Regions from separate parts of the Homo sapiens genome. Here region 1 is linked to region 2. The links are contacts of gene promoters, found by promoter capture Hi-C in blood cells and fetal thymus (Javierre and others, 2016). All regions are on one chromosome and are shown on one strand. The core of a region is centred on a gene start or on the middle of the fragment in contact, and the rest is flanking DNA. Distances in the headings are between cores, read along the strand shown. Region 1 has its middle 12 kb from the start of MAPRE2. Region 2 holds the start of SLC39A6 (solute carrier family 39 member 6).

Region 1 (5,812 bases), core at 667-3,166, 1.1 Mb before region 2:
CAACCTAATTTCTGTGCATGCCTCTGACCTGCTTATTCAGCAAGTGAGAGAATGCAGCGATGAATATGGACACCACACCACAGTCTCACATTTTTACAAGGTGCTTTTGGAAACCTGAATGGAGATTTGACTTTTTTTTTTTAGTTGCTTCCATGGCAACCCTCCCCATGAAAACAGGCGCAGTCTGCAGAGGCCTGTTCTTTTCTGTTGATGTTTGTCACTACCACATGGGGTCAGGTTTGTTCTTTCTCCCTCCCCAAAAATATTTGCTAGCTCTGTGGAAAAACTGCTGTTGCCCTAAACAGTTTACCTGCATCTGTACCCCGCTGTTCCTGTGCCAAGGTGACTAGGGACCTTCTGTGTGGCTTTGGCATCCCTCAGTTTCCAGATATAAAGCAGAGGACAGGTTCCCTCTACTCTCAAATTCCCATGGGCATGGCTGGGGATAGGAGAGCAGGCAGAGTCCCTCTTCAAGGACACTCACCAGCTCCTAACCCAACATCTCTAACCAGTCATGTAGTCTTGTGGCTTATAGTACGAACTTTAGTTTCTGAATCTTTGAAAGATCTTAAGCTTTTGATACTTGAAAATGAGACTCTGAGGCTCATAAACATTTCTTCAGGGTTTTTTCTCTGCCATGGGCTTACAAGTTGATTTTGAAACTCCGAAGTTGAACATTCATTCTTTTCTTCCTCTCTTGCATTCCTGCCCCATGCTGAAAACTCAGCGAGTAAAGAAGGTTCAGCAGGTGTGTGTGGCAGGTTTTCCAAAGTGGGTTACTACAATCTCTCCCATCCCACAGGTTTTCTTGCAGTGTGAGATTGACATTCCTCCTAGTTATGTTACCAGTGGTGTTGATAGCCCTTCCTCTTGAATCTGGGTGGAACTTTGTGGCAGCCCTGACCAGCAAAATACAATGGAAGTGATGCTCTGTGACTTCCAAGACTAGGTTTTAAAACTGCCATGCCCTTCTGCCTGCTCATTAGGGATGCTTGTGCTAGGAACCCAGCCACCATGCTGTGAGGAGCCCAGGCCACATGGGGAAGCCTTGCATAGGTGTTCCAACCAGAGCCCCAGCTGAGGCCCCAATTAAAAGGCAACGTCAGCCACCAGTCATGAGACTGAGGAAGCCTTTATGAAGACTTCAGCAGTCAGTCACCTTCCAACCATAGCTACATGAGAGACCATGGGTGACAACCACCTAGCCAAGCCCAGTCAACCTCCAGAATGACAAGAGATAATAATAAAATGATTATTGCTATTTTAATCCACCAAGTTTAGAGTCACAATAGAGAACCAACAGGGTTTTTCTGTTATCTGTTAATGCATAACAGCCTACCACAAAACTTATTAACTTAAAATAACCATTTGTCCTACATTATGGTTTTGTGGACCAGGAGTTCAGGAAGGTCTTGGTTAGGTGGGTCCTTTCTAATCCATATATCCATATAGTGTCAGCTGTGGTGGGTGAAGATGCAGGATGCTTCCTCAGTCACATATTTGGAGCCTTGGTACTCTTTGTGGTCTCTCCTCTCTTCCCCTCCCTCTCCATGTGTCCCACCCTCTGGGCCTCTCTACATGGTTGGTACTTCCCCCAGAGTAGCTAGACTTCTCACAGGGCAGCAGACCTGCCTTCTTACAGAGCAGCATGGTAGTCCCAGGGTAGCTGAACTTCTCACAGGGCAGCTGACCTTTAAGAGACAAAGGCAAAAGCTGCCTGTCATTGTAAGGTCTAGGTCAAGAACTGGTCGGCATCATTTCTACCAAAATCTATTGATCAAAGCTGCCACCATGATTCAAAGGGAGGAGAAATAAATCCAACCTCTAGAATGGAAGGGTAAGAAAAAATTATGGCCACAGGGGCAAGGCAGGAACCTAGGTTTATATCTCAAAATGTTACCTTACAAATCTTATTATACCTGTTTTATGGGTGAAGAAGCTGAAGCTAGAGGAGTTAAGTAATTTGGCCAAGGTTACACAACTTGTAAGCACTTGGATTCAAATCCAAAGCATATGCATCAAAACCATGAACTCTGAATTTTGCTATTCTTCTATGCAAAATATAGTAAATATATAATGTATACTATATTTTCTTAATTCCCCAGTACTAACTTTTATAAGGAAGATAACATCCCCCAACCCCCCAAACACATACACATTACAGCTCTAATTTTAGAAAAACCTAGAGAACTATTCTAAATGACCTGATTTGGGTCATAGGCCTATCTCTGCATCAATCCTCAGGGTCTGGAGGATGGAATAATTATATTTGGCAAGCTCTGCTACAACCACAAGGATTGAAGAAATAATTTCCCGAAAGAGGGAGGAGCAAACAAAATAATGTTCACTGTGCATGCTCTTTATACTGCAAGCCATTATTTCTCATTCATGATTTCATTGCATCATTGAAGGCAGATAGGATCTGTCCCAGTGAGACTGGAATTGTGGGCTGGTGGGAATGGCGTGAAGACAGGCTGTGTAGAGAAGTTCATTCCAAGCATTGATTCTAGATCTATCAGCTAACTATTAACTCATTATGTCTCACATATTAAGACTAAGACCTCTGGTTTTCCTAGGGGGCTGATTCCTTTATGTAGAAGTTAAATGGAGGCTTCTTAAAGGAGGCCCATTATGTTTTCATGTGCTACACTATGCAGTTGGACCCTTCATTTCTACTTTCTGTACATGTTGAGTCAATGTGAATTGAGAATAGGAAGATGCTTGGTGTCTAAGCACTTGAGGAAACAAAACATAAGCTCTAATTAAAACATTTCTGATGGGAAACTTAGTCTTACTTCATGATTTCCAGTTGCATTTTTTTTCCTAATGAAATAAGCTGCTTTAATTTTCTTTTTAAAAATTTTATTTGGATGAGGTCAGAAAATGAGGAATTTCTCTTCCATTACTCACACTGCTTTCCAGCTGCCGGCCTCATGTTCCCTTGACACGCTGTCGAGGAGCCATCCAGAAGCCATAGCTCTGCCATGGTACACACCAGACTTGACAGAGAAGTTCCAGGCTCAGGAAGACGCTTCCTTCCAATGTCCCTGGTTGCCACTTGATGGCCTGGGTTCTGAGTAGCTCTGGAACTCTGGAAGTCCCTGGTACCTGATGGAATGACCATTGCCCCACTTTCTCCTGACTTCCTTTGTATGTATATTAAGGAGTTGCCACTCAGCTTGCACTCTTTAATATCAAAGTCAGAAATAAAGCCCAGTGAGTTAGTTGATTTTTAAGAACCCTAAGGAAATCTTCTCTGGGAAGCTTCTGAATCGTCTGCAAGATAATTTATTTGTTAGCAGTACTTGGAGTCTCTTCATTTCTCTTGCCACCCAACTGAGCCCAAGGTGCCTTTTAATCCCTTTTAGCTGTCCTATGCAGTCACTTCAACAAGATGCATTTTATTTTAAGATGGAAATAAAATAGAGAAAGGAAATAGAGGAATTTCATAAAATTGGACATAGACACGTTTTAACGAGAGCACTCAAATAGACATGTCTGTATCTGGATGGTTGAATTATAACAGTCTTGGCATAGTGAAAATGAAAGCAGATTGTAGCTTTGAATACAAATACCAAAAAAATGCCTGCAGTTTCCTTTCCCTCCAGAAGGTATCAAAGAAATGGACATTGCTAGCTGACGCTTACTGAGAAATAAAATAGCTAATCACTATATAAGGACAAGAAAATTATTTTTTTCTCTATCAATCACATATACTGCTAACACCAAATCCTAGCATTTCTTCCTCCTTCCCCCTCCCTTTTTCTTAACCATAATTTACAGCTCCTCTCCCTCCATTTCTTTCAATCTCTCACCCTCATGGATACTGCTATCCTGTACAGCCTCCCATCCCTGGGTCCTTTTTATTCTCTCTGTCTCTCAGCCCTTGTATGTTTTTATTTCCTTGCTTCCTACACGGAAGTGCCGTTTTATGGCAGCAGTCTCTTGCCTCTGCAACCATCAGCTATCTCATCCCTGCCACTCCCCACCCTGGATTCTGCATTCTTCCTTCCAGGTTAATCAGACCTTAGTGGAAGGTAGACTGAGCTAGGGAAAAAGAATGACATGTTTGACATCTGGCAAGTGTGTTTGTGCTCAGCTCTGCCACTTCCTGTCTGGTTATTTGGCTAAGTTATTGAACTAGTTACCTCCTGTGACAATTGGGACTTAGAATAGCCCCCTTTCTTGTGAGAATAAAGTACCTCCTCATTGTTAAGCATAGCACTTGGCCCATAAAAAGTATTCAAATATTAGGTGTTGCTATTAATGTGATTAGAGAATATTCCACATCTCTGTTGCCACTACTAACACTCCTGCAAATGCCTGGTTTCTAACTTTGGTTTTAAGCCAAGTTCTTTACAACAGACTTTAAAAGCCCTGCACATTCTGGTTTCTCTGTGATCTTTCTGACCTTATCTTCTACAGTTATCTCTCCCATCCCCACAATACGCACACATTCACACTCACTGTGCTACATACATGTGACCTGACTTCCTTAATGTTTCTTGAACAAATCATGCTCCTACCTCAGGGCCTTTGCACTTTCTGTTGGCTCTACCTGAAATATTCTTCTGATATCACAGGTCTATGTCCCTCACCTCTCTCAGGTCATCGATTAAAGATTATCTTTTCAGGAATGTCTACCCTGGTCACCCCATTTAAAATTACAACACCCTTCCTCTGCAGTCCAAGTCCTCCTTCCTTGCTTTAGTTGTCTCTATAGCATTTGCCACCATCTGACACACTACATATTTTACTTATATATTGTCTGTCTCCTGACCCTACCACATACACTTGCTCATACACTCAAGTGTAAGTTCAGGGAATTTTGTCTACAAATTTCTGCATCTCTGATGTCTAGAATTGTTCCTAGCACATAGTAAGTTCTCAATAAATATTTGTAGAATGAATGATTGAGGACTAATTAAAATATTACTATCTTAATGAAGCTTTTCTAGTGTCCCCAGGCCTGACTACTTTCTTTTCTATATTCCTAATACTTAATACACTTTTCATTATAACTTTTATCACATTGTATTTTTATGGAAAACACATTTAAAGCTCTTAAATTTAGCCAGATGGTATAATTCAAAAGTACATTTTTGTTTAATAGACTGAAACCTCACATTGTACAGATTTGATTGAATGATTACAGAAATCATAATGCTCTGAGTATTTTTAAATTGCATTCACATCATGTTCTATGAGTTATTCTACAAAATTAAATCCAAGCTTGAGAAAATCTAAGAAAAAGCAGATTAGAAATAAATTCCAACACAGAGAGAAATCTTGTCTCATGCAATGGCATGTTCTGTGTTTTCACATCATGGACACCTTGCTATTTTGCTAGCAAGTATGAGACTTAAAAATTCTGCCTTTTGAGCATAAATAATCTGCAAAGACAAGTAATCTCAAAAGTCAATTCTAGAGGAGCATACCTGTGCATGTTGGTTTTGAAGAGGCTTTCTTCATCTGGAGGAAAACATTATTCACCAATTTTTTTTAAAATAAAATGCTATTACTTAAGGCCAGGAGGTATTTGCATGTCATGGAAATTTCACCAGATCCAGAAGAACTAATAAAATCTTCCTATGCCTCTGGGTGAAAGGTAGTGAGGAAGAACCAATCTCAAATACATTTCTGTGCCACCAGTGCAATTTCAGTGCCGGTACCACTGGCTGGCCAACCATATACTTTTTCACTGCTATCATTTTGGGTGTGGAGCATATATTTCAGCCATTGATAACTACTGTACCTGCCATTCCCTACTGGAAAATATCTTAAAATATACACATGGGGGAAATGGCTTGTC
Region 2 (5,806 bases), core at 3,307-5,806:
CTACTTCGTTTTCTCGAGTTAATGAAAATTAAAATCAACTTCTGTTTTGAGCACTTTGGAACTTGCCTCCAGCTACCTGGCGATACTATGTCACCACAGTGGTATCCCACCTCTTCTACCTCATCAGAGAAGCAGTACATCACGAGTCACCTAGGGAGAAAGCCTCAGGTGGAACAAGCATGAGGATAAATGGAGATTCACAAGCCTGTTAACTCACTGTATAAACGTATTAAGGAAATGAGCTTTAATTTCAAAATGGGGCTCATCAGAGATTGAGAAATATGTTGCTTCAGTACTAACGCTATCCTACTTGGCCTAAACAAGTCCAAGACATGCCTCTCTTCTAGTAATGACTCTACTTGCAAAAACTCAGTTCTGTCTACATACCTGGCAAAGTAATGCTCTGCAATGAGAGGATATTAAATTATGCAGATTATTCTTGTGGAGGGCAAGGCTGGTTAATAAAACAAACCTGTACCGGCAGGCAGATGTTTTCAACTATTTAATTAGATGACAAACTTAGTTTGAAGATACTCCTCTGTGCAATCTCTCCCCCAGCCAAAAAAGAAAAAAAAAAAAAAACAACAAAAAAACCCCAAACTGGCTTTAGTACCAGTTTCTCATCTTCTGTAAAGACATTTTCAACTCCCACCACAATTCTCAGTTGGTACAACTCAGAGCAAACTTTATCACCAGGGCTGCTATGGCTATGGCCACTACTAGGATTAGTCCAGAATTAGTACAGTCACATGCTGGTTTGAATGAAGTACTAAAGTTTTGCTTATTAAACTGTATCAACTAATTCCTTGTTCCTTTTTTTTTTGACATAATTCCCTGTTCTTGACATCTCTCAGCCAAGGTGAATTACGTACAGTCTGGAAGTCTACTCTAGAAAAACCACATGAACTCAGAACCTCACTGTCCCAACTTTTCCCTTGTCCAGCATGACATTCATGGAAACTGCTCCAATTTCAATCATTCCTCAAGTCATGGTGGACCTTCTGTCAAGGAGGCAGCAGTGGTATTCTCAGTAGTCTTCAGCCCCTTCAGTCACACCTTTCCCTACAATATGGATTCTAACTCCTGCTTTCAACCCCTCATTTTCTATTTTTTATTAATAATGTTCACCTTTATAGACTTTCTCTAAAGATAGCCTTGATATCTTTCTCTACATATTTTATATTCTGTATTAGAAAAAATTGTAGGAGGCAGCACTACGCTCACCAAAAGAACTGTTCCCTAAGTTCTGAATTGGGAATGTTTACAACATAGCAGGCATGCTTTGTGGCAAGTGCCTTGCTGAGAAGGTGGAAATTCCCTTTTCAATAACTTCAACATTTTACTTTTACTTTAAACTCCTCATAACTAGAGATAGAGTAGCAGAGACAGGACAGACACACAGGTATATTAAAATAATGAACAGCACTCATCTTACCTCCTGAGGATTTTCATTTGTGTTTCTGGAATACATAAAGCCTTTTCGGGGCTCACTCACAGATTCATTTGTTTTCCTACCAGCCAGCCGGCTCACCCGGCTCTTTGATGTGACACTGGGTGGAGTGGAGCTGCTTACATCTTTGGGGAAGAGTTTTCCAGGTCTTGGAGTCTCTATTGTCTCTAGAAAGTGAGTTCCTTCAGAGACAGTGTTGTACACAGTTGAGGTCACTTCACTAGCACTAACACTGTCCTTGACATTCCTTCTACCACTGGCATGTTCTGGTCGGTGAGCTCCTTTCCCCTGGCTGTTTCTAGGATCTTTACCTGAACTATCTGAGTCATGGTCTGGGCAAAGAGCTTTTCGCTTATTTTTACCAGAAGCAGCATGATTATGGTGAGAGTGATGATCATGGTCAGAGTGATGCTCGTGCTCTGAGTGATGCTCATGGTCTGAGTGACGCTCATGGTCTGAGTGATGCTCGTGGTCTGAGTGATGGTCGTGGTCATGGTGTATATGGATTCTTTTAATCTTATCTATGCCTATATTTTGAAGTAATTTTCTGAACCCTTCAACTGACAAAGAATTATTTTCTCCATAGCGGTAGAAAAGCTGTTGTAGATGATATTGCCGTGTGGAAATTGCCAAGTCAACATTAATGCCAGATTCCCAATTCGGACTAATTTTCTCAGTGGTCTGGGGGAAAGCAGCTGCTTTTAGTTCATGAAGGGGATTTGTGACAGAGAGGGCAAAGGTCAGGATCAAGATTACAGATAACTTCCTCGCCATTGCGCCTTCCTAGAAAAGACAGGAAAAAAAAATTCTTGACTCACTTCTAAAACAAATTGAATTAAGAAACCTCATACTGAAAATTAATGTGTAATCAAATAATCAAAGTTGCCAGAGCATCATGTGGTGTGACCAGTGTGACGCTAGGTACTGTGAAGATGGAAAGAACTAGAGTCCTAGGCTCTACCCTTGCATTCCTAAAACACATGAAACAACTGGAGAAGAGCTGAGTGCTAAGAGACTGCCATTAGCACTGTAAAAGCAATAGTAATTCAGAGACAAGGGAGATCCATGTGGCCACAGCCATCAACTGCTTACTGAAGTTGAGAATTTATTTGAACGATTATTTGAATCATTGAGGCCAATGATTCATAATTAAATCTAGGCTGGGTGTGGTGGCTCATGCCTATAATCCCAGCACTTTGGGAGGCTGAGGCAGGCAGATCACCTGAGGCCAGGAGTTTGTGACCAGCCTGGGCAACATTGTGAAACCCTGTCTCAAAAAAAAAAAAGAACGAAATGAAATCTAGCTACCTTGATCATCACCATCATTTCATAAAATAACCTTCAAACACCAAAAAATAGAAATAATAATCTCAGAATTCACATATTTAAAAAATTTTAAACTAATACACTCTCCTTACATACAAGCCCATTTAAGACCCCTTTCCCCAATCACAATCCTCAAAGGTGCTCAATTTTGCCAGTGTATCCCTCAGGATATTTTCTATGCATACTCAAATACATGTATACTTAATTTTTTTTTTAAAGTTTTTTTTTTTTTTTTCTAGAGACGAGGTCTCACTATGTTGTCCGGGTTGGTCTTGAACTCCTGGCCTCAAGAGATCCTCCACCTCCAATTCCCAAAGTGCTGGGATTACAGGCGTGACCACTACGCCCAGCCTCAAATAAGTGTATACTTTAAATACACATTGAATCTTTTTTCCGACTTGACAATGAATCAGACACATTATGTCCATACATAGAATTCTTAAAGTAAACTGAACTTCATGAAAAACTCACTGTAGCATCCTTGTGTTACTACAAACCAGTCAACATTTAATCACAGGCTGTTAATCATCCACAGTAGTGTTTGGAACCAAAGGCCTGTGCCCCAAAGAGGAGGAAGCAATTGAGTTGGAGCTTGAAAAGCAGAATTCAGTTAAGCAGAGCCAGAATTCAGTTAATTCAGATCCAGCAGGATGTCCAGCACCAACGGTGGAGGTGATGGTGGTCAAACTCACATCTCCAGCAAAAGACGCAGACGTCAAGTTTACAACTAAGCAAGAGCATGGGGCTATCCAGCTCTACCACGGTCAGCTGTTCTTTGGACAGGGCTCTCGCATTCATTACCTTATCTAAAATACCGGTAAAACCTATTTTGCAAGGCGAAGGAGGAAAACACATGAAGGAATGTATATTACAAGTACTCGTTAAACTCATGTGTTGCACAAGTGCGAGGTATCATACAGGGAACAGTGGGAAATGGAGGTACGGCGTAGAACGAGGCTCCTGAAAGAGGAATCTTTGGGGCTTGAAGTTTCGGGAATTCTTTTACTAGGTAAAAGATAAACATTTAGAAATCATTCCCAGGAGAGAGGCGAGGAGCGGGGTGGGAGGGGACTAGCACAGGGGACAGCTCCGAGCCTTTCTCCAGGGAGGATGCTGAGCGCGGTCGTGGACCCGTTGAAGGATCTCCTTTCCTGCAAGTTGGTGTGTGCTGGAGGAAAAAGGAAAGCAGAAGGGAAGGGCCTTAGAGAAAAAGGCGAGTACAGAAAACGGAAAAGAGGGCACAAAGCTCTCTTCTAAAAGCTTTTTATTTCTAAACACGTCAGTCCCTTCTTCGAATATGGGATGAAAAGTACGGATCTTTTCCTCAAAAAATCCTCCGTTGCACCCCGAAGCCCATCTGAGCACCTTAAGAAGTCCGGCTCTCTAGGGTGAGTGGGCGCCTGCGGCGGGCTCCCCCCAGCATCCTCTTTCTGTAGCCCCCCTGCCCGGTCCGCAGGATCCGGTTCTCCGCAGAACCACCCCTACCCCGCCACGCCTGTCTGGCCTGAGGAGCTCCCCTCCCAGCCGCCCTGCTCCCGGACCTGAAAGACTCACGTCTCCGCGGCCTCGTTGTCCCACGGCCCGGCCACGCGCGCAGGTTTGGTTCCACACGGGCGGTCCAGAGGGCTCGGAACGGGCCCACTGGTGTCTTCGAGAAATCTCTACCAGGCGCGAACACGCGGTGGTTTCATTGGGTTGGCTGCCCCTCGGTCCGGGGGCAGCGCCGCGCAGCCACCCGGCAGCCGCGCCCCTAGCCTTCGCGAAGCTGGAAGACAATCACTAATTACCGCCGCGCGCAGCGCCGCGGGGAACCACCGCCCCCTTCGCCCAGGACTGCAGGGCATGCGCAGTGCGACCCCGGAACCCGGCTCCGCAGACGGATCCGCTTTTCCGTGTGTTCGCCGACGCCGCGGGGGCGTGGCGCGGCCCTAGCGCATTGTAAGCAGTTGGGGGTCATTTCCTCGAGGCCCTACTCGCTAGCCAGCGCCCCCGGGGCCAGCCCTGGCTGCTGCTGGGAGCCGGGTCGTAAGGGGCAGCGAGATGTTTCTGACGCTGCCCCAGGCACATGAGCCCCGGGTCCTTCGGGAGGGTCCCGAGCCACTCGGGTCGGATTTCGCTCTTGAGACAAAGGCCTGGCTCGTTCGCGGAGCGGGGCCACGGTCCAAGAGCAGAGCTAGCAAAGCGGCGGCCTTGCACAGGGGTTCCAGCCTGCGGTGGGAACGGAGAGTCTCAGGGGGGCGGGGCTGCCTCCGTCTGGCCCTCGGCTGGCTGCGAAACGTGGACTGGGTGATGCCTCAGGAGAAACCACCCTAGTAGTTCCGCTCCGAGGGCGGAAGTGCGCGTCTCTTGTTTGTGCGGCTGACCAGTTGGCGACATGGTGGCACCCGTGCTGGAGACTTCTCACGTGTTTTGCTGCCCAAACCGGGTGCGGGGAGTCCTGAACTGGAGCTCTGGGCCCAGAGGACTTCTGGCCTTTGGCACGTCCTGCTCCGTGGTGCTCTATGACCCCCTGGTAAGAGAGGTCGCTGGACGGCCGACCCTTGTGCTTTTCGGGTTGAACCTGTGGACGTGCTCCGGGCGCGCTGTTAGTTGCCGCCCCAGACCTAGGAGGCGAGTCGGGTCGGCTCAGGGGAGCGGGGTTTGGGCTCGGAGTCTCCAGTGGACCTGCCGGACTCGCTCCTCACCCCTCACCCTTTGCCGTCTCACGCGTGGCGTCATCCTAGGGTCATTGCTGCCCATGAGCTGCTAGTAACCTGTTAGTCCCACGCAGAAACCCGAATGATAAGCATCTTACCTGAAGCCTTCCTTGGGAACTGTAGTACCGTTAATCAATTTGGGTTTTAAAACAATTGAAATTTATATGTAGATTAAAACCATCATCCCACAGGTGCAATCTCATTTCAGTATTTCCTTCAGTTTTGGTTAATGAACTTTTGTTGTATTGAATTTCAAGGAAATGTTACCTGTGTTTTAGCTACGGGAATGGACATTTTAGAGAAAGTGTCAGTTTGGGGGAAAGGTCATAGGGGA

What was found. The method cuts DNA at HindIII sites, captures the fragments that hold promoters and counts their contacts. A CHiCAGO score of 5 or more calls a contact.
Region 1: a fragment that was not itself captured here is called in contact with the fragment with the promoter of SLC39A6 in region 2 in 1 of 17 cell types (naive CD8 T cells); the score reaches 5.5 in naive CD8 T cells.

Annotation. Positions count from the first base shown.
Region 1 is chr18:35,026,378-35,032,189 of GRCh38, forward strand. It overlaps a transcript of MAPRE2 not described here. Among named protein-coding and RNA genes, the nearest start is that of MAPRE2, 12 kb to the right of the region's middle. The HindIII fragment of the contact is 2,691 bases long and covers 572-3,262 here.
Region 2 is chr18:36,124,784-36,130,589 of GRCh38, forward strand. SLC39A6 (solute carrier family 39 member 6) reads right to left here and starts at 4,557. Exons shown (of 10, transcript NM_012319.4): 1 at 4,331-4,557; 2 at 1,436-2,233. The coding sequence starts at 2,224. It overlaps ELP2 (elongator acetyltransferase complex subunit 2), which reads left to right and starts at 5,116. Exons shown (of 22, transcript NM_018255.4): 1 at 5,116-5,288. The coding sequence starts at 5,151. RefSeq lists enhancers at 4,355-4,860, 4,483-4,777, 4,808-4,997, 4,861-5,366, 5,158-5,367. The HindIII fragment of the contact is 4,684 bases long and covers 4,035-5,806 here.